Linked DNA regions of Homo sapiens: regions 1, 2, 4, 5, 6 and 7 are each linked to region 3. The links are contacts of gene promoters, found by promoter capture Hi-C in blood cells and fetal thymus (Javierre and others, 2016). All regions are on one chromosome and are shown on one strand. The core of a region is centred on a gene start or on the middle of the fragment in contact, and the rest is flanking DNA. Distances in the headings are between cores, read along the strand shown.

Region 1 (2,947 bases), core at 447-2,946, 400 kb after region 3:
CTGGCTAACATGGTGAAACCCAGTTTCTACTAAAAATACAAAAAATTAGCTGGGCATGGTGGCAGGCACCTGTAGTCCCAGCTACTCAGGAAGCTGAGGCAGGAGAATGGCGTGAACCCGGAAGGCGGAGCTTGCAGTGAGCCGAGATCGCGCCACTGCACTCCAGCCTGGGCAACAGTGTGAGACTCCATCTTAAAAAAAAAAAAAAAAAAAAAGTCATCATCTTAGGGAGGTCTTTTCTGATCACCCTATTTAAAAGTTCAGGCTGGGCGTCATGGCTCACACCTGTAATCCTAGCACTTTGAGAGGCTGAGGCAGGAGAATCACTTGAACCTGGGAGGCGGAGGTTGCAGTGAGCCGAGATTGCGCCACTGCACTCCAGCCTGGGCGACAGAATGAGACTCTGTCTCAAAAAACATAAAAAAATAAAAATAAATAAAAATAAGTTAGCTCCATGCTTTTAACTCAGTAACAAAAAGACAAATGACCAACGTCAAAAGTGAGCAAAGGACTATCTAAGAAGATATATATACACGGCCAATGGGCACATGAAAAGATGCTCACCACGTAATGATATGTATTAGGGAAACACAGATCAAAACCACAGGACACACGACTTCCTATCACTAGGATGACTGTTATTTTAAAAATGGAAAATAACAAGTATTGGTGAGGAGATGAAGAAATTGGAAGCTTTGTATATTACTGATAGGAGTGTAAAATGGTGCTGCTGCTGTGGGAAACTGGCCATTCCTAAAAAAGTTAAACATAGAATTACCATATACCCAGCAGTTCCACTTTTAGGTTTTTACCCCAAAGAATTGAAAATGGGGACTCAAGCAGATACCATTTTTATTTTTATTTTTTATTTTTAGTAGAGATGGGGTTTCACCGTGTTGGCCAGGCTGGTCTCGAACTCCTGATCTCGAGTGATCCACCCGCCTCGGCCTCCCAAAGTGCTAGGACTGCTGGCGTGAGCCACCATGCCTGGCCTCAAACAGATACTTGTAACCTAAATGTTCACAACAGCACTATTCACAGTAGCCAAAGATGGAGACAACCCAGATGTCCCTAAACAGACGAATGGATTAACAAAATGTGGTCTATCCATGTGATTCAATTTTACTCAGCCATAAAAAAGAATGAAAGGCACATGCTACCACATGAATGAACCTTGAAAACAAGGTGAGATTCTTGTGAAAGGAGCTAGTCACAAAAGGCCACATAGTGTATGATGCCATTTATGTGAAATATCCAAAAACAGACAAACCCACACAGAGAAAGAAAAGCAACGGTTACCAGGGGCTGGAGGAGGAGGAATGGCCAAATGGGTACGGGGTTTCCTTTTGGGGTGATGAGAATGTTCTGGAACTAGACAGAAATAGTGGTTACATAACACTGTGAATGAACTAAATGCCACTCAATTGTTCACTTAAAAAAAAACAGAGATGGAGTCTTGTCGTGTTGCCTAGGTTGGTCTCTAACTCCTGGGATCAAGCAATCCTCCCGCCTCAGCCTCCCAAAGTGCTGGGATCACAGGCCTGAGCCACCGCGCTGGCCAATTGTTCACTTTTAAATGATTAATTTCATGTTATTTGAATTTCACCTCAATGGAAAAACTCAGCCCCAAACATGCCTTATCTTCCCTCCCTACCTGATTTTTCTCCTAATGCACAGGGCCCCTCACACATGGTATGTCCGGCCTATGTGTCCATTGTTCATCCTGCTTCTTTAAAATATAAATTCCAACAGGGTAAGGATTTCATCTGTTTTGTTAACTCACATATGCCCAAAGAGTCTCTGGTACTCAATAAATATTTGTTGAATAAATGAATTAGATAGGGTGTGGTGATGGAGAGAGTCCCGCCGCCATCCCTGCCCCCATCTCTAATTCTAACGTTCTAACCCGGCTCTTGACCTTGGAGCCGGTTAACGATGATCCTGTCTGGGCTCATTTTCCCTCCTTTTCCTGAAGAGCAGCATCCACAGGCCCTCACTCAGCTCACTCCCTTTTAACCCTTGTCTGCTGAGAGTTTGAGATAAAGGGGGCCACGAGAGAAGACAATGAATCCATTACAATGTGTGATGAGCTGTCTGCTCTGTGGCTTCCCACAGCAATTTATCATGACCTGGAACCACAGCTGTGAGGCCGGGTGTTCCCCCGCCAGGACCTCACTCCCCAGCTGCTTCAGAAGGGAACATTTACAGGAACCTGTCCATACCTATTTAATGAACAGCTGCTCGGATGCAGCCCTGTCCCAGGCACTCAGCCAAATGACAAATGAACTATATAATCATTCATTCATTCGATGATTCATCCATTCTGTGATTGATTGATTCATTCATTCATGTGGTTGTCAAACATTCATTGAGCACCTACTATGTGCCAGACACTGTACCTTGCACTGTGGCCCTTAATATCAGAGATGTCAATGTATGATAGACCAGGATTCCTCAGCCTAGGCACTGGGGACACTTTTGTTTTTTGTTGTTGTTGTTGCTGTTTTTGAGACAGGGTTTCACTCTGTGGCCCAGGCTGGAGTACAGTGGCACAATCACAGCTCACTGCAGCCTCAACCTCCTGGGCTGAAGCAATCCTCCCACCTCAGCCTCTTAAGTAGCTGCGATTACAGGCACACGCCACCATGCCTGGCTAATTTTTTTGTATTTTTTGTAGAGATAGGGTCTCCCTGTATTGCTTAAGCTTGTCTTGAACTCCTGAGCTCAAGCTATCCTCCTGTCTCAGCCTCCTAAAGTGCTGGGATTACAGGTGTGAGCCACCATGCCTGGCTACTGTGCACATTGGAACCAGGTATTTCTTTGTCACAGGGGTTGTCCTATAGATTAGCAGCACCCCTGGCTGCAGATGCCAGTAGCACTCCCTCAGTCGTGACAACTAAGATGTCTCCAGACATTGCCAAACGTCCCTGGGGCACACAGTCATCCC
Region 2 (3,212 bases), core at 496-2,995, 360 kb after region 3:
TCGCCCAGCTAATTTTTGTATTTTTAGTAGAGACTGTTTCACCATGTTGGCCAGGCTGGTCTCGAACTCCTGACTTCAAGTGATCAGCCCACCTTGGCCTCCCAAAGCGCTGAGATTACAGGCCTGAGCCACTGTGCCCGGCTTCTTTCAAAGTTTTTATCTTTGATTTTACAAAATTTGAATATGATATGATGAGATATTGACTTCTTTGTATTTATCCTGTTTGGTGTTCTGAGATTCCTGGATCTATGGCTTGGTGTCTGTCAATAATTTTGGTGAGTTATCAGCCATTATTAGTTAAAATATTTCTTCTGCTTCTTTCATTTTTCTCCTTTTAGAATTCCCTTTACGAAGATGTTATACCTTTTGTAATTGTCCCGCCATTTTTTGATATTTTTTTCTGTTTTCCTCAGTCTTTTTTTCTCTTGCTTTTCAGTTTGGGAAGTTCTATTGACATTTTCTCAGGTTCACGGATTTCTTCATCAACCACGTGCAGTCCACTGACGGGTCCATCAAAGGCCTTCTCCGTTTCTGTTACGGCATTTTTTATTTCTAGCATTCCCTTTTGATTCTTAGAGTTTTCACTTCTCTACTTACATCCCATTGGTTCTTGAATCTCATCCACTTTTTCCATTAGAGCCTTTAGCATATTAATCATAGTTATCAGTCTGATAATCATCAAATCTCTGTATATTGCAGTCTGGCTCTGATGCATGCTCTGTCTCTTCATACTGTGGTTTTTGCCCTTTAATATGCTTTGAACATTTTAGGATGAAGATGAGAGAGTTGTTATGTTTCAAAGAAAATAGGTACTGGTTGGGCGCGGTGGCTGACGCCTATAATCCCAGCACTTTGGGAGGCCGAGGTAGGTGGATCACCTGAGGTCAGGAGTTTGAGACCAGCCTGGCCGACACAGTGAAACCCCTTCTCTACTAAATATACAAAAAATTAGCTGGGCGTGGTGGCATGCACCTGTAATCTGAGCTACTTAGGAGGCTGAGGCAGGAGAATGGCTTGAACCCGGGAGATGGAGGTTGCAGTGAGCCGAAGTGGTGCCATTGCACTCCAGCCTGGGCAACAAGAGCCAAACTCCGTTTGGAAAAAAGAGTCTTCTCGTTATTTATCAGTTTGGGACAGGTGCTGAGGAGCGGCCAAGCACTGAAAGAATTTTACTGGCTGTCCCAAGTGGTGTCCCCGAGCTCTCAAAATCTACGAGCTGTCCGAAAGCATTTGGGCTTTCTAAGTGGGTTTCACATAATGACTATGATAAACCTGTGGTATTTATGCACTAATACCTGTGCTGGGCTATGTGCCCACTGACACCAGCATATATTGTGGATAGTGTGTAGGAACTCTATAGGCTCAGATAATTCCAGACGTGTCAATACATACAGATGATGGAACTCTTTTGCACAGTGACTGGTGGTCCCACAGCTGAGTGATGATGGTGCATCCGTTGCTCAGAGCCTCGGCGCTGGAGCCACATGCTTGGGTTCCCATCTTGGCTCTTTTACTTAGGAGCTCATAAACTTGATCACATTCATCTCTGTCTCTTTTTCTCCAACCGGTGAAAGGTGAGAGTAAGCCACGCCATACGTATGTGGTGACTTCTGAATTGTTCAATGTGTATAATGTTATCAGTGCAAATGCTCATGAAGCTTAATTATCAGTGAAATGCCTTGCTTTAGATTGCACGACTTAACAAGCTCAAAGATTCATGCAAGCCCGGGATTCCGAACTCCCAAGCCATTGTTCTTTCTATGACATCTTCCTGCTTGGTCTACAACCAACCACTTTATCCAAATTCATACTCAATTTTGAAATACTCAGATAAAGCTTTCAAAAATGCTGTCTGTGTCTGGCTGAGTGCACACTCAATGGCCACTCCACATAAAAGGGCACATTAGGAGGCCTGGCACGGTGGCTTATGCCTGTAATCCCAGCACTTTGGGATGCCAAGGCAGGTGGATCACCTGAGGTCAAGAGTTCGAGACCAGCCTGGTTAATATGGGGAAACCCTGTCACTACTAAAAATACAAAAAAAAATTTTTTAAAGGGCACTATGGTCCTCCAGAGTGGTCCAGTTGCTTGAGTCATGGTCAACAGATGAGCTGTGCGAATGAGATGAATACCAGTGTCCTGGGTGGAGCCGCTTATCTACTGACAAGTCTGCTGTGCTAAAAGTGGTGAAAAATATCATCTTGCCTTATTTATTCCTAGCAAATGTAAGTGCCTCTAACCTTAGATTGCTTCCGAGTCATGGAACCAACAGTATCTTAGCATCAACTCCGGGTGATGGGTTAGGGGAACAAGTCACACAATATATCAAAACAATATAAACAGTTTTTCAGAGCTGCAGCTCTATATGCAAACTTGTACAATTATCACCTTATTATTTTTAAATTTATCTTTATATATATATCCATATGACTTACTTGTTTCTTGGTGTGAATAAATCTGTATATTCTTGGTTAATAGTGTCTACCGATTCATTTCATGTCCCTATCTTTATTCAATATGGGCTACTCTTTGGATGAGAAAAAAATGATTGTACTTGAGTATATTTACCTTTGGAAAGGTAAGTAGGTTGGGTGATTGACTGTAGTTGATACCTCTATGATTCTGCATAAACTCATTTATAAAATAAACTCAAATCATAAAATAAATAATAAAAAATAAAAGTGGATCTTGTTTTACACACGAACACATAGACAATACACATTCTTATTATCTCTTTTTTAAAAAGTTGATTTATGGATATAAATGACATATCCCAAGTTTACTAAACTAAATAAACATTTCATCAAGAGGAAATACATATTAAAAGCAAAGATAGGTAAACTTGATTGCGTGAAAAGCCACAAAGACATCTGCATCTTTCTAGGTTTGCTCCAAATTTTTGAAATTAATTATTTTAGTAGCTACTTAATTAGGTAAAAAAACTGCATTACAACAAACTTTGCCATATTTTCCCCAGGAGTATACCTAATTGGGCAGTTTGAGGGGTACAGGATGTAATAGGAAATAGCACATGTTCTTTAAAGGAAAAATTCAAAGGGAACCTGCTTGACGCTAGAATCAAATATATAAATTAAGGAATAAAATAGATCCCCAAAACACATTTATAACCGCATACGAAAAATACAGAGGATAATTTTTAAATACATTTAAGAGGACAGCATTCAACAGGCCAGTGTGAACATACCTCTAAT
Region 3 (2,961 bases), core at 168-2,667:
CTTCCGAAGCCCTCAAGCTTTTACAGCCAGGTCAGAATAAACCACTCCTGTGTGTTCTCCTAGCACCTTTGCTGCATCTCTTAGTGCAGTCAGTGAATCTAGTTTGTCTTCCAGTTCATACTAACCTACCTTGTGAAAAGGAAGGGTCACATAATGAATTGTGTACTTTACAGTCTTCTCTAACAAAAGTGGGAGCTCTTCCATAGTGGGATACTGTTCAGGCTCTCATTCAATCATTACTGAGCACCTACCACGTGTCAGGCATTAGCTGAACTGCTGGGAATTCAGGGGTGAGGCAGACCCAATCCCTGCCCTCACTCTTACATCTCCTGTAGCCTAGCCCAATGTCTAGCCCAGGGCCTGGCACAGTAGGGCTTACGGATGGCAATCTCATTGGAAAGTTTGTCTTGAAACTGCCTTTGCAAAACAAACACTGCTTTAACTTACCTTCTATGCTAAATATATTAATAAACATTTTCTCAAGATGCATTGTCCACTAATAGCTTAGTGTTGAAGAACAGGCCTTGGGTCAGATGGACCTGGATTAAAATCCCTGTTCCCTCCTCTTACTGCTTGAGGGACTTTGGACATGTTACCTGACTTCTCTGAACTTGAGCTTCCTGATCTGTAAAATGGAGACAGTAATACCTCACAGGGTTGTTGTGAGGTGAGGAGCCTGCCCTATAGCAAGTGTCCTGCCATATAGCAAGTGCGCAGTAAACACTGGCCATTCTTCTTCTTGGTGTGATTACTGGGAATTAGTTGCCATTGTGCTGTTGGGACTGGTGACAGAACTCTTGGATTGAGAATGCCGAGATGGTGCACGGAAGATTCTGTGTGCTCTTTCAGACCAGGAGGAGGATGAGGAGGAGGAAAGTTTATATGACGTAAATTCATTTGACCGTAAGATATGTATTTAAACATCGTGGAGGATCTTGGGGGTCTGATGGGGAGTGGGGTTGCTGAAGCTCCAGCCACCCCTAGGCCCTCCACCTGGCAGGACCAAAGTTGGGGCAGTAGCCGAAGCACCGCCCCCCGGGCCCCGCAGGAGTGTGCAGTCACCCAGTTAGGCCTATCTTGGCCTGCCCATCACTCCTGGCCTGCGGTCTCCTAACCCTGTGGCAGCAGCAGCATTCCCTGAATGGATCGAAGGCTGCCATGGTGTCGTCCGCTGAATTGCTATAGGAGTCAGCCCAGGGCTGCTCATGTGCACCTCAGGTTGCTGATGGCAGCTCTAGTTATTTGGGGATGGAAGTTTGGGGAGAGTGGGCCTTGGTCCACCCTGTGCGAAAGGGAATTCCACAGCCCCCCGGGCGCCCGCCCCCGCCCCCGCCCCGCCCCCTCCCCGCCCCTTCCCCGCCGGGCCCCGGGCCCCGCCCCCGCTCTCCATAGTTACCGCGCTGTGGAGGCGGCGGCCATCTTGGCGGCGGAGCGATGAGCGGGTCTAACCCGAAGGCTGCGGCCGCGGCGTCGGCGGCTGGGCCCGGGGGGCTGGTGGCTGGCAAGGAGGAGAAGAAGAAGGCGGGCGGCGGCGTCCTGAACCGCCTGAAGGCGCGGCGGCAGGCGCCCCACCACGCGGCCGACGACGGCGTCGGGGCAGCGGTCACGGAGCAGGAGCTGCTGGCGCTGGACACCATCCGGCCCGAGCACGTCCTGCGCCTCAGCCGGGTCACCGAGAGTGAGTGCCGCGCGGGCCGCGCCCTCCCCTCGCGCCGTGCCCCGGCTCCCGGAGCCTTCAGCGGACCCGGCCACTTGACCAGCGCGGGGGTCCCCGCCAGACCCCCTCGGCCGGCCGGGCCGCGCTTCCCGCTGCCCCGCCGGCCGGGCTTTGCTCCCGCCACGCTCACGTAGCTCTGGTGGGGAAGGACTCTCCTGGGCTGGACCGCATTCCTGTGAGTCCGGCCACGCTAGGATGCCCTTCGGCCGGTCGGCTCCCCAGCTCTGCCGGACCTGTTTGGGTAGAGGGCCCCGTTCAGCTGAACTGGATCCTCCTGAGCCGGCCGGGGGCCGAGGTCCCCTAATAAATGGGCCCCTGGGCCCTCAGCCTGGAACCCCCGGCCATCAGTGAAGTTCCCGCTCAGCCAGGCTCCCCCAGCCCTCTGGCAGGCCAGAAGCCTTACCTGCTTCCTCCGCCCTGGCCCCATGGCAGCCCTCCCCCATTGCAGCCTGCCCGGCCTCCCTCCCTCTTTGGGTCGGGAGCGTTGCCCCTTAGTGTGCAGATGGGTTCTTCCTCAAAACACATAGCCGTGGCATTTCCTGCTCATTTAAAACTGTGCCACATTAAAACAAAAATAAAGTTTCAGTTTGTGTACAGACTCCGACATGTGAATCCTGCTTTTGACATTCTCGTGAATTAAGAATGATTTCAGAGTTTCAGAAATGCGTTTCCTGCACAAAAGGCAACCATCCTAAGCTTTTTCGTTGATAGGAGGATGGGTGGGAAGAAAAATGTTGCCCAGTCCCTGCCCTGGGTGATCTCCCTTTTTCTGTTCTCTGCCAAGCCAGTCCCTGACTTGACGTCTTTTCTCTTGCTGCTGTTTTCCCTGCAGGAGTGTGCACTCACCTAGTTAGGCCTATCTTGGCCTGCCCATCACTCCTGGCGTGCAGTCTCCTAACCCTGTGGCAGCAGCAACATTCCCTGGATGGATCGAAGGCTGCCATGGTGTCTGCTGAGCTGCTATAGCAGGCAGCCCAGGGCTGTTCAGGTGCACCTCAGGTTGCCGATTGCAGCTCTAGTAATTTGGGGATGGAAATTTGGGGGGAGTAGGCCTTGGTCCACCCTGTGCGAAAGGGAATTCCCATTTCCTAAAAGAGTTTTAATTTGATTCTAGATATTTGGATGCCCCCGTTTCCCAATACTGTTTGGGTTGAGACTGTCCTTACCAGACCTGAACGTATCTTTAGACATTCTTGTTAGTTTTATTGAAACAGTGTGAAAAAGCTTCTTTTCTTCTGAACCAG
Region 4 (3,042 bases), core at 347-2,846, 390 kb after region 3:
TGAATGGGTGAGGGAAACGTGTCTACGCAATGGAATATTATTCAGCTCCAAAAAAGAAGGAAATCCTGCCATTTCCAACAGCCTGGATGAACCTGCTATGCTAAGTGAGATAAGTAAGCACAGAAAGACTAATACTGCATGATCTCAGCCTGGTACAGTGGCTCACGCCTGTAATCCCAACACTTCAGGAGGCTGAGGCAGGTGGATCACCTGAGGTCAGGAGTTTGAGACCAGCATGGCCAACATGGTGAAACTCCATCTCTATTAAAGATACAAAAATAGATTGTGGTGGTGCACGCCTGTAGTCCCAGCTACTCGGGAGGCTGAGGCAGAATCGCTTGAACCCAGGAGGCAGAGGTCGCAGTGAGCCAAGATGGCACCACTGCACTCCAGCCTGGGCGACAGAGCGAGACTCCACATCAAGAAAAATAAATAAATAAATAAATAAATAAATACTGCATGATCTCACTTATATGTGGAATCTAAACTAACCAAACTCATAGAAGCAGAGAGTAGAGTAGAATAGTCGTTGCCAGGGACTGAGGGTTGGAGAAAACGGGGTGTTGTTTAATGGGTATAAAGTGTCAGTTATACAAGATGAGTAAGTTCTGGAGATGTAACGTACAGCGTGTAACAACACTCTGTTGTATACCTGAAATTTCTTAAGAGAGTAGATCTTAAGATCCTTAACCACCCCACCTCCAAAAAAGAAAGAAAGTGGTAACAATGTAAGATGGTGGGTGTTTTAGTTTGCGGTGATCATTTCACAATGTGTATTAAATATCCGGTTGCCCACTTTAAATATATACAATGTTTACTTTTCAAGCATATTCAGATAAAGCTGGGGGAAAACAAACAGCTTTCTGGGGCCATTGTTTGCAGACCCCTGAGTTAGGGCATTGTGTGATGGCTGGGTCAATTTCACTTCAGCATGGTAAGAGGCACGTGACAAAAACTGGCATGAAAGGGGCTGTTGGAACCAAGGGGCAGGAAAGGGCTGCCCTATAGGATCCGCCAGAAGACAGACCGGCATTTCACGAAGTGAGCAAATTCCGGAGGAAATAAAGGATTTCCGTTTTAAGGGGTTGGGAGGCAAGAGAAAAGGCTGAGAGGGTGTGTGTGTCTGAAATGGGGTCTCTGGGTGAGAAAACGTGTGAGATAAAGTGCGAGGCTGGAAAAACGCGCACGTGTGCAGGAGGCGGGGATCTGCTGCACCGAGTGTGCACATTTGCACGAACCGTGGGGGCGTCTGCGGCTGTGGGTGGAGAGGAAATCCTGGATCACACATCTGAGAGAGGGGGTGTGGGTGGGAGTGGGAGAGTATGTAAGAGCGTGGGTCGTGACAGGTGAGGGACTTGTGTGTGCAACTGTGCGTCCTGCGAGAGTGAGGAGGTCTCGGACTGAGGAACTGCGTTCAGTGCTCAGTGGTGAGTTCCCACGCAAGAGCCTGGGGAGTCAACCAGAAAGACCCGCACGCGGGGCGGGCCCAGCGACCTCGGGCGCCATCTGCTGATTACCAGACGCCACTACCTGAGAAAGGCCCCTCCAGTCTCCTCATTGCCCAGCTGCGGACCCTAAGCTGAGCCATAACCGTCCTACCAACCCACGTCAGCAGAAGAGCCCAGTGGGAGGGCGTGTGTTCACTTCTGCTCCTCTGGGCAAAGACGCCCAGGTCAGAAACACCCACCCGACCCTCCCACTACCCAGAGACAGCCCCACCTGCACAGCTCAGAGCAGGACCACTGACCCTCTGGCTCTCCGGTCATATTTGCTATTGAAGACCAGAATAAAGTATTTTTATCAGGATTGAATACATGACTCATGAATGAATAAATTCATTCTCCTTACATATCGGTTCCTATTGAGAAATATGGTGGCTAGAATTTATTTCCTCCGGAAAGAGGAATAAATGTGGAGCCCCTGGGTTTGGTGCTATTTATTACCCATTTCTCTGATGTTGTAAGAAAAGAGAGATTCAGAAGAAATATCACATTTCAGCCCCGAACTTACGTAGCTTGCTGCCGTTCTAGGTGATTTACTTAGATTGGCTTCTGCATTTTGACAAATGAGGAAATTGGGAGAATTAAAGCCTCTGGTTTTAAAGCCTGCTGCTGGGTCAAGTAGAACTGTGACTTTTATTTTTTTTTTTTTAGACAGAGTCTTGCTCTGTTGCCCAGGCTGGAGTGCAGTGGCACAATCTCAGCTCACTGCAACCTCCACCTCCCGGGCTCCCTCAGCGATTCTCCTGCCTCAGCCTCCCAAGCAGCTGGAACTACAGATGCCCACCACCACGCACGGCTAATTTTTGCATTTTTAGTAGAGGTGGAGTTTCACCGTGTTGGCCAGGCTGGTCTCAAACTCCTGACCTCAAATGACCCACCCACCTCAGCCTTCCGAAGTGCTGGGATTACAGGTGTGAGCCACCGTGCCCGGCCCAGAACTATGACATTTTGTTTTTGTTTTTCTCTGTTTCTTTGAAAAGAAATGGAGTGAAGGTGCAGAGATATGAGATAAATTATTTAAACACATTATTATTATTGTTGTTATTATTATTATTATTATTATTATTATTATTGAGTCGGAATTTCACTCTTGTTGCCCAGGCTCGAGTGCAATGGCATGATCTCAGCTCACTGCAACCTCCACCTCATGGGTTCAAGTTATTCTCTTGCCTCAGCCTCCCAAGTAGCTGGGATTACAGGCATGCGCCACCACGTCGGGGTATTTTTTTTTTTTTTTTTTTTTTTTAGTAGAGATGGGTTTCTCCATGTTGGTCAGGCTGGTCTCGAACTCCTGACCTCAGATGATCCACCCACCTCGGCCTCCCAAAGTGCTGGGATTACAGGCGTGAGCCACCGCACCCTGCCTTAAACACGTTATTAAATCAGTAAAATGAAGGGCCTGACAAATAAATGACCACTGAGCTAGGATGTAGAAGACCAAGGCCTGGAAGAAGGGGAGTCTGCCTCTTCTGTCACTGGTGAGCTACGACCTTCCCTGCAGGCACACCCTACGCTGTCCTTCAGGCTGGCTCTCCATGCC
Region 5 (2,826 bases), core at 205-2,704, 310 kb after region 3:
TCTCCTAAGGAGTTAATGACAGACCCAGGATTAGTTCCCAGGTTTTGATTCCATGTCATTTATTCTAGTAATTTCCCAGTCCAGCTGGGCCTAAGAAACACCTTAGAGAGCTGGTTAAACTGCAGACTTTTGGGTCTCACAGAAAATACTAACAGAATCAGAATCTCTGATAGGTGGAATCCAGGAATCTGTATTTCCTTTAATAGCCTAGGGCCTTACTACTTAAGAGTGTAGTCCATGAGCCAGCAGCATTGGTAACACCTGGGAGCTCGTTAGAAATGCAGAATCCAGGCTGGGCACGGTGGCTCACGCCTGTAATCCCAACACTTTGGGGGGCTGAGGCAGGCAGATCACAAGGTCAGGAGTTCGAGACCAGCCTGGCCAACATAGTGAAACCCCATCTCTACTAAAAATACAAAAATTAGCTGGGCATGGTGGCACGCACCTGTAGTCCCAGCTACTCAGGAGGCTGAGGCAGGAAAATCACTTGAACCTGGGAGGTGGAGGTTGAGGTGAGCCAAGATCGTGCCACTGCACTCCAGCCTGGGCAACAGACTGAGACTCTGTCTCGAAAAAAAAAAAAGAGAAATGCAGAATCCTGTCCGGGCACGGTGGCTCACATCTGTAATCCCAACACTTTGTGAGGCCGAGGCGGGCAGATCATGAGGTCAGGAGTTCGAGACTAGCCTGACCAACATGGTGAAACCCCATCTCTACTAAAAATACAAAAATTAGCCAGGCAATACTGACTCCCAGGACCCATCCAAGACCAAAAAATTAGAATCTCTGTGGTTAAAATACCTCACAGTGAAGGATGAACAAAATCACTTTACTTTTGTGTGTGGAATGCTGTTTCATGTTTTATCTTTGAAGACAGGTATGTCAAAACTTTACTAAAATAAACTCTCTGGCCTTGAGCTTTTTCTATTTCAAAGAAGAGGAAGGTGACTGATATGGTCTGAATGTGTTCCTCCAAAATTCATATGTTAAAATTGACACCATAAAATAAATAACAGAGAGACTGACTCTCCAAAATAAAGCGTTTATTCCAGAATTGCAAGGAATTGCAATTTGAGATATGCATGCTATAGTGGACTATAGGCACATTAAAAGAGGTTGTGGCAACGAGAAAAGACAAAGTCCACATAAGCTTCTTTAAAACAAGTACCGTTGATCACAGGAGCCTGTTGCAGGAGTTGGCTTTAGCTTATTGTGGAGACACCCACTGTTAGGCAAATATTCTTATGCAAGTGGTTTATCTATAATACTGCGGATTTTAGGAACTTCTTGAGATAATTTTTGTGACAGGCATTTGTTAGGGTTTGACATAAGTGACTCCATTTTGATACTGATAATTTCCAAAAAGTCCTTACTCCCAAGGTGATGGTATTAGGAGGTGGGACCTCTGGGAAGTAATTAGTGAAAGGGTCTTGTGTTGGTTCGAACCCCAAGAGCGTGGCCAACAGACAACATGAGGCAGTGTGTGTGCAGGTGGGCTGAGGCTTAAAATGGCGTCAGCACCAAATGAGGACGGGGCAGGGGTTTTGTAGTCTCCTGTAAACAGGAAGTTTCTCAGTCTGTTGTAACCGCTACATTGTACCCGGATGACGTCTCTCTCGGTCTTCAGGGGGTAGGTGTCTTCTGGCCCGCTCTCTTCCCGCTTCTGCTATCTTGCTGACACATGCTGCTGGCGCGAGTGGCCTTGCGCCTTGGGACCGGGCCCAAGGAGGGAGGGGAGGGAGGGGTCATTCATTCTCTTAAGCTTTCAGGCCCCACGGAGAATCTTTCAATTACATAATGGGTCCTGAGCCCTCATGAACTGGATCAATGCCTTCATAAAAGAGACCCCAGAGGCCAGGCATGGTGGCTCACAACTGTAATCCCAGCACTGTGGGAGGCCAAGACAGGTGGATCACAAGGTCAGGAGTTCGAGACTAGCCTGGCCAAGATGGTGAAACCCCGTCTCTACTAAAAATAAAAAAAAAATTAGCTGGGCACAGTGGTAGGTGCCTGTAGTCCCAGCTACTCGGGAGGCTGAGGCAGGAGAATCGCTTGAACCTCGGAGGCAGAGGTTGCAGGGAGCTGAGATCATGCCAATGCACTCTAGCCTGGGTGACAGAGCGAGACTCCATCTCAAAAAAAAAAAAAAAAAAAAAAAGAAGCGATCCTAGAGACACCTTTGCCTCTTCTACCATGTGAAGACTTAGTGAGAAGCTGCCATCTGTGAATCAGGAAGAGGTCCTCACCAGACACCAAATCTGCCAGTGTCTTGACTTGGACTTCCCAGCCTCCAGAGCTGTAAGAAATAAATGGTTATTGTTCATGAGCCATCCAGTGTATGGTATTTTGTTTTAGCAGCCCAGATGGACTAAGACATTGCATTTTTCATTCTTTTTTTTATTTTAAACAAGAATTTTCCCACCACCTACAATGTGGGCTGTGCTGGGCATTATGAAGGACACAAAGATGGGGACTGGAACAGCCTGTCTACCTCCTGGAAAGGAGGCACTTTTTCTGTCCCTGAAGGCAAACAGAGGTGGGAGATACACAGATTATGATTGCTAAATTGACCAGAGGCTGTTGATAACCAATTGCAGTGTGCATTTTCTATGCTATGGTAGGAGAGTAGCCCACCAGAAAACTAGGCAAAACAGGGGGGCAAAAGGAAACTTTTTATTGCTTGGAGTAAACCTGATCACATGACGTCCTTTGATAATAAAGATGCTATTACTTTCCTACAGTTTCCTGACTATTATGTACTGTTTGTGTATGGGTTTTAGGAGTTGAGGTGATTTTTTTTTACACTGCATCATCCTCAATCTCCCA
Region 6 (3,206 bases), core at 1-2,500, 270 kb before region 3:
GCTATACTGTGTGTTTACACATAGGTGTGTCTTTAGAGGAAAGGGTTCAAAGCTTTCATTAGATTCTTTTTTTTTCTAATAAAGAAAAAAGCTTTGTTGCCCAGGCTGGTCTCAAACTCTCAAGCTCAAGCAATCTGTCCGCCTCGGCCTCTCAAAGTGTTGGGATTACAGCCATGAGCCACCACGCTGGTCCTCATTACATTCTCAAAGGGGCCTATTGAAAAAAAAAAAAAAAAAAAAAAAAAAGGCCGGGCACAGTGGCTCACGCCTGTAATCCCAGCACTTTGGGAGGCCGAGGAAGGCGGATCACAAGGTCAGGAGATGGAGACCATCCTGGCCAATATGGTGAAACCCTGTCTCTACCAAAGTACAAAAAAAAAAATTAGCCAGGCATGGTGGTGCGTGCCTGTAATCCCAGCTATTCAGGAGGCTGAGGCAGTAGAACTGCTTGAACCTGGGATGCAGAGGTTGCAGTGAGCCAAGATTGCACCGCTGCACTCCAGCCTAAGCAACAAGAGTCAAACTCCGTCTCAAAAAAAAAAAAAAAAAAAAAAAAAAAAAAGATGAGACTGTTGAGTCAGGATTAGGATCCAGGTCTGCTGGCACCAATTTCAGTGCTCTTTATACTTTCTGTTGCTATTCATTCATTCATCCATTCATTCAGCAAATTTATATCAAGTATCTGGTATGTGCCAGGTATGATTCCAAATTACACCATTCCCAGATTATTCTGAGAATGCTGCAGTGCCAAACTCTTGGTATCACAGACTTTATATTCTAGTGGGGGAGACAGACAAAATAATAATATAACGACGAAGGTGCAATGTTATGTGCTATGAGAAAACGCAGTCGGAGGATGGCGAGGAAGGGGAACGGAATTTTAGATAGGGCGGTCTGGGATCAGAACCTCCAGATGCCCGTCCATGGACTCCAACGAAGGGAGCGATTCCAGGTACCAGGGCACCCTGCACAAACCTCTCTTGAGCTTCCGCCTCGCCCAGGTGGGGACGGTAGGGAGACCGGAGGGCACACGCATGCGCACGAAGGAAACGGTAAAGCCTGAAGGGAGGTGCAGAGCGCATGCTCTCTCTTGCCCGAGATGCCGAGGATTTTGACAAGGACTCCGTCGTCCCGGATGATAGTGCTCAGGTTAATGCCAGTGGGAGGGCGGCGCCCAATAGTAACTTCCTTTGGAGGTTGTAGTACCGCCCCCAGAGCCAATTTTCCACTTCCGCTTCCGGCGCTGCGGCAGTCCAGATCAAAAATGGCGGTAGTTGGTGTGTCCTCGGTTTCTCGGCTGCTGGGTCGGTCCCGCCCACAGCTGGGGCGGCCTATGTCGAGTGGCGCCCATGGCGAAGAGGGCTCAGGTACTGGGGCCGGGGTCGACGGGTCGAGCCTCAGCCCCACTCGGGCGAGACAGGGAGGGACTGTGACCTTGGCCCGAGGCCTTGCGGGAGGGAAAGTGAGACCCGGGCCCGCCCCATACCGGCGCTGAACGTTTGTGGCTTCTCCGCAGCTCGCATGTGGAAGACTCTCACCTTCTTCGTCGCGCTCCCCGGGGTGGCAGTCAGCATGCTGAATGTGTACCTGAAGTCGCACCACGGAGAGCACGAGAGACCCGAGTTCATCGCCTACCCCCATCTCCGCATCAGGACCAAGGTACGCCCTTGTACATCTCTTCAAGCGTCCGTTCTCTTTTCGTTATGTGTGCCTTAGTGCAAGTTCTTCATTCTCTGAAGGCATGGGTGCCAGGCGTGTACAGCTTGTTTATCCTCACAAACAGAAAATGTATTTTCTTCCATTTTGTGGATGGACAGCTGACACTTGGGATTACGTCTCAATTCTCTTCTTCAAGGTCATACAATAAGTGCTCTTCAGTTTCCCTTTTCTCCGATTCATCCTACCTCCTGCCTTCTGAGACAGTTCTTTTTTTTTTTTTTTTTTTTTTTTTTACTTCTGAGACAGTTCTGAAACAGGTGTCCGTTGTGTAAAGCCTGGAGGTTTGGGAAATCCAATTAGAGTGGCAAAGTCTGAAGGTGGTTCGCGTAAGCGAACCCAGCAGCTACATGGGAGGCTGAAGCAGGAGAATCCCTTGAACCTAGGAGGCGGAGTTTGCAGGGAGCTGAGATCGTGCCACTGCACTCCGGCCTGGGCAACAGAGCGAGACTCTGGTCTCAAAACAAAACAAAACAGCAACAACAAAACATGGGCATCTGGCAGCTACTAGTTGCATAATGAAGAGACTGACAGCTTTCTCTATTCCCCACCAATACCTTTTCTCGACTGTTTTATCATTGGTTGTTGATGTAGATATATTACAATGTTGTGTCCTCTGTTGTTTGCTGTATCTTTAACAAGGGCTTATTCTGATTCTTCAATACTGGCCATGCGCGGTGGCTCACGCCTGTAATCCCAGCACTTTGGGAGGCCAAGGTGGGTGGATCGCCGGAGGTCAGGAGTTCAAGACCAGCCTCGTCAACATGGCGAAACACTATCTCTACTAAAAGTACAAAAAGTAGCCGGGCGTGGTGGCGGGCGCCTGTAATCCCAGCTACTCGGGAGGCTGCGGTGGGAGAATCTAGGAGGTTGAACCCAGGAGGAGGAGGTTGCAGTGAGCCAAGATCCAGCCATTGCACTGCAGCCTGGGCAACAGGAGTGAAACTCCGTCTCAAAAAAAAATAGTAATAATATACTTGATCTTAGCCAAAAGGCCGAGAAGTGATGAAAAAAGTTATTATTATTATTATTATTATTACATCACCTAGCCCATATAGGACTGGCCTTGTAGAAACTTAACCTAGACTCTTGAATTTGTTGAGTCTTTGAGCGGCACTCCCATCCTTGTACAATGCAATTAGAAGCCAAACAGTAAAGGTTTCTCAGCCTCAGCACTGTTGACATTTGGGGCTGGGTAATTCTTGTTGGGGGGCTATCTTGTGCATTGTGAAATGTTTAGCCATATCCTTGGCCTGTACCCACTAGGTGGCAGTAGTACCTGCGCAACCCCACTCCCGCTTCCCCCTCCCCCGCCCCCATCACAGTGTCTCCCGATACTACCCAGTGTGCCCTGAAGGGGCAAAATCACCCTGGGTTGGAGACCGTTGCCCTAAAGTAATGCTTTTCAAAGGTAATAGGCAAGATAATTCAGGGTGGGCTGCAGTTTCCCAGCCCAGATATTGTTTGAAGTCTGGGATGGTGCCAGAAAT
Region 7 (2,974 bases), core at 99-2,598, 510 kb after region 3:
AGTGTGCTGAGTGCTTTACCTGCACCATCTCATTTATTTCCCGCAAACCCTCCTGTGGTTTAGGTGCTACCATCCCCATTTGGCAGAAGTGGAAATGGAGTCCCCTAGAAGGTACGTAGCTTGTAGAAAGTCATGTAATTAGTCAACATCGTACTTCCAGCCACTGGCCAGCAGAAGCTTCCCCATCAATTCAAATCCATTGAATCCTAATGGCAATTTAAGAGGCCTGTTTTATTTTATAGGTGGGTGTTTGTGTGGGAAAAGGGCTACCAGGAAACTGACTCCGTGGTCAGCTCCGTTACGACCAAGGTCAAGGGCGTGGCTGTGACCAACACTTCTAAACTTGGATTCCGGATCTGGGATGTGGCGGATTATGTGATACCAGCTCAGGTGTGTCTCCCACTGTGTCTTCTGTCTAACACTGACACCTTGCTCTTTACTGACTTTGCACACTTGATTAATGATTGACGTGGCCTGAGTCCTGACATCACCAATGCCCAGAATGATTGTTTTAGTCCAAGAAAACGGTGCAGCCAGATCTCTTTTCAGCTTAGGATCTAACAGAGTGTATCCAGGCAGCTGTGGTTCCTCAGCTTGAAAGCATGGCAGGCTGAAAGCCCTGAAAGATGAGAAAACAAATGTCTTAAATCCTGATAGAAATTCAAGTGGAAATATCACCTTTCCACATTTTGGGTTTGCATTATTGTCCCAAATACACGAGGTAAATCTTTTCAGACAGTGTAAAAACTTTAGGCCGGGCACAGTAGCTCACGTGTGTAATCCCAGCACTTTGGGAGGCTGGGGCGGGCAGATACCTTGAGCCCAGGAGTTTGAGACCAGCCTGGGCAATGTGGTGAAACCCCATCTCTATAAAAAAAAAAAAAAAGAAAAAAAAAGAAAAGAATTAGAGACCATTAGAGACCAAAACCCAAACAAGAAGGAAACAGAGACAGCAGCACAGGACTCCATCGGGAGCGAAAGGAAGGGAAGACATTGTTTACTGCTGCATACTAGTCTTCAGGCTGTTAATCTGCAAAGCTCCAAGTTAAACATTGACTCTTTAGTCCTGGTAACAGCTCTGCACCACACAGTCAAACCCGACATAGCCCTCCAGATGGCCTATGTGCTAAGGGACCGAGGGCGACCAGTAGAGATAAGCTGCCAACTCTTGGCTCAGAGCTCTTGCCAGGGAAAACAAGAACTCCAGAAACTCTTTCTTCAGGTGTGTTCTTCCCCCTGCCTTCTCAAGAGAAGGGTCTTGTGGGGTCCCCAGAGAGGAGACCGAGCTAATGAGCCATAAAAGTCAGGAGGAAGGGCCAGGTGCGGTGGCTCATGCCTGTAATCCCAGCACTTTGGGAGGCCGAGGTCGGTGTATCATGAGGTCAAGAGATTGAGACCATCCTGGCTAACATGGTGAAACCCTGTCTACTAAAAATACAAAAATTAGTGGGGTGTGGTGGTGGGTGCCTGTAGTCCCAGCTACTAGGGAGGCTGAGGCAGGAGAATCTCTTGAACCTGGGAGGCGGAGGTTGTAGTGAGCCGAGATAGTGCCACTGCACTCCAGCCTGGTGACAGAGCAAGACTCCGTCTCAAAAAAAAAGATCAAGTGGAACAGGGGATTTGCAGTTGGCTGGAGGGGGCAGTCCTGTTAGCATGTACCTGTCTCAGCAGAGAGACGGTTGCCTCCTGTGCAGGCATAGCCTTGTCCCGGTGAGCTCTGGGAATGTCATGCTCGGTGTGTTTACTGGGCAGATGAGGAAGGGCACAAGCCCCGCTTTTGTCCCTTGGTGGAAAGGAGCACCCCACAACTCAGCCTTCCGTGGTGGATCTGGGCGGGGGCCGTGTGAGTTCCCCAGGGCTTTCCTCATGAGCTTTCACGACGTCTGTGTTCTTTGTAGATGGAACACAGTCATCTATTTGCAGCCCCTTGGCTCATCTCCAGACTGAAATTACCCTTAATTTGAAGTAGATAAGTGATAGGAAACAGGCCAGATGTGGTGGTTCATGCCTGTAATCTCAACACTTTTGGAGGCCGAGGCAGAAGGATCACTTGAGCCCAGGAGTTTGAGGCTGAAGTGAACTGTGATCACGCCACTGCACTCCAGCTAGGGCAACAGAGCAAGACCCCAACTCTAAAAGAGAGAGAAAGAAGGAGAGATAGGAAACGAAAAGTAGACCATACTGGATTGTTCCAAGTATAACTCAGGAGAGTCGTAGGAGCGGCCTTCTCTAACACCAAATGCAGAGTGTGTTTGTACATTGAACACCTGGGAACGTGACAGGTGGCGGGAGAGAGGCTGCAGCTCATGCCACATCCTCACGCCTCCTCCTGTGGCCTTCTCCTTGTCTCCCAACATAGTTTGCCCTAGGCCTTTGGAGGACGCCAGCTATTTCTAGAGCTTCCACCACTTGTCAGACCGTGGGGTTGGGGATGTCTACAGACTGGTTGGTTTCTGAGTTGCCCTGATCCCCAAGATGGCTCCCACTACTGACTGTTATCCTCAGGAGTGTGAAATGCTAAAAGCTTTGGGCATCTCCTTTTAAAATGCCTGGGCCCAGCCAGGCGCAGTGGCTTACGCCTGTAGTCCCAGCACTTTTGGAGGCCAAGGCAGGAGGATCACTTGAGCTCAGGATTCAAGACCAGCCTGGGCAATATAGTGAGACCCCATCTTGATTGGATGGGTGGTGGATGGATGGATGGATGGATGGATGGATGGATGGATGGATAGATAGATAGATAGATAGATAGATAGATAGATAGATAGATGGAAAGAAAGAAAGAATAGATAAATGATAGGATAGGAGAAAGAAAGGGAAAGAAAGAAAAGAGAAGAGAAAAGAAAGAAAAGGGATAGGATAGATGACAGATGATAGGATAGATTAGATAGGTGATAGATAATCGATAAATAGAAAACAGATGATAGATATAGGATAGATTAGATAGATAGATAGATAGATAGATAGATAGATAGAC

Evidence for each region. Contacts are between HindIII fragments. The CHiCAGO score rates a contact against its expected background, and 5 or more counts as called.
Region 1: a contact is called between a fragment that was not itself captured here and the fragment with the promoter of UNC119B in region 3, in 3 of 17 cell types (endothelial precursors, M1 macrophages and naive B cells). The highest score is 7.1, in endothelial precursors.
Region 2: a fragment that was not itself captured here is called in contact with the fragment with the promoter of UNC119B in region 3 in 3 of 17 cell types (naive B cells, M1 macrophages and megakaryocytes); the score reaches 7.4 in naive B cells.
Region 4: a contact is called between a fragment that was not itself captured here and the fragment with the promoter of UNC119B in region 3, in 6 of 17 cell types (naive B cells, total B cells, total CD8 T cells and 3 more). The highest score is 10.4, in naive B cells.
Region 5: a fragment that was not itself captured here is called in contact with the fragment with the promoter of UNC119B in region 3 in 9 of 17 cell types (endothelial precursors, M1 macrophages, naive B cells and 6 more); the score reaches 8.3 in endothelial precursors.
Region 6: the fragment with the promoter of COX6A1 here is called in contact with the fragment with the promoter of UNC119B in region 3 in 5 of 17 cell types (total CD8 T cells, naive CD4 T cells, naive CD8 T cells and 2 more); the score reaches 7.5 in total CD8 T cells.
Region 7: a contact is called between a fragment that was not itself captured here and the fragment with the promoter of UNC119B in region 3, in 1 of 17 cell types (naive B cells). The highest score is 5.6, in naive B cells.

Annotation. Positions count from the first base shown.
Region 1 is chr12:121,112,092-121,115,038 of GRCh38, forward strand. All of the region lies in intron 1 of LOC105370030 (a long non-coding RNA gene), which reads left to right. Among named protein-coding and RNA genes, the nearest start is that of P2RX7, 19 kb to the right of the region's middle. The HindIII fragment of the contact is 2,011 bases long and covers 692-2,702 here.
Region 2 is chr12:121,066,132-121,069,343 of GRCh38, forward strand. LOC105378258 (a long non-coding RNA gene) reads right to left here. Exons shown (of 4, transcript XR_007063492.1): 3 at 3,206-3,212. Among named protein-coding and RNA genes, the nearest start is that of OASL, 28 kb to the left of the region's middle. The HindIII fragment of the contact is 178 bases long and covers 1,657-1,834 here.
Region 3 is chr12:120,709,041-120,712,001 of GRCh38, forward strand. UNC119B (unc-119 lipid binding chaperone B) reads left to right here and starts at 1,418. Exons shown (of 5, transcript NM_001080533.3): 1 at 1,418-1,678. The coding sequence starts at 1,435. LOC124903036 (a long non-coding RNA gene) reads right to left here and starts at 1,466. Exons shown (of 2, transcript XR_007063491.1): 1 at 1,397-1,466; 2 at 893-1,234. RefSeq lists silencers at 1,308-1,367, 1,458-1,727 and an enhancer at 1,335-2,177. The HindIII fragment of the contact is 2,396 bases long and covers 16-2,411 here.
Region 4 is chr12:121,094,619-121,097,660 of GRCh38, forward strand. No RefSeq gene overlaps it. Among named protein-coding and RNA genes, the nearest start is that of P2RX7, 37 kb to the right of the region's middle. The HindIII fragment of the contact is 3,941 bases long and covers 1-3,042 here.
Region 5 is chr12:121,016,735-121,019,560 of GRCh38, forward strand. OASL (2'-5'-oligoadenylate synthetase like) reads right to left here. Exons shown (of 6, transcript NM_003733.4): 6 at 2,377-2,826. Among named protein-coding and RNA genes, the nearest start is that of C12orf43, 1.7 kb to the left of the region's middle. The HindIII fragment of the contact is 612 bases long and covers 1,149-1,760 here.
Region 6 is chr12:120,436,863-120,440,068 of GRCh38, forward strand. It overlaps COX6A1 (cytochrome c oxidase subunit 6A1), which reads left to right and starts at 1,251. Exons shown (of 3, transcript NM_004373.4): 1 at 1,251-1,367; 2 at 1,517-1,659. The coding sequence starts at 1,265. It also overlaps the pseudogene LOC124903126. RefSeq lists enhancers at 1,288-1,497, 1,424-1,945. The HindIII fragment of the contact is 8,043 bases long and covers 90-3,206 here.
Region 7 is chr12:121,216,892-121,219,865 of GRCh38, forward strand. It overlaps P2RX4 (purinergic receptor P2X 4), which reads left to right. Exons shown (of 12, transcript NM_002560.3): 2 at 243-390. Among named protein-coding and RNA genes, the nearest start is that of P2RX4, 8.2 kb to the left of the region's middle. The HindIII fragment of the contact is 2,347 bases long and covers 176-2,522 here.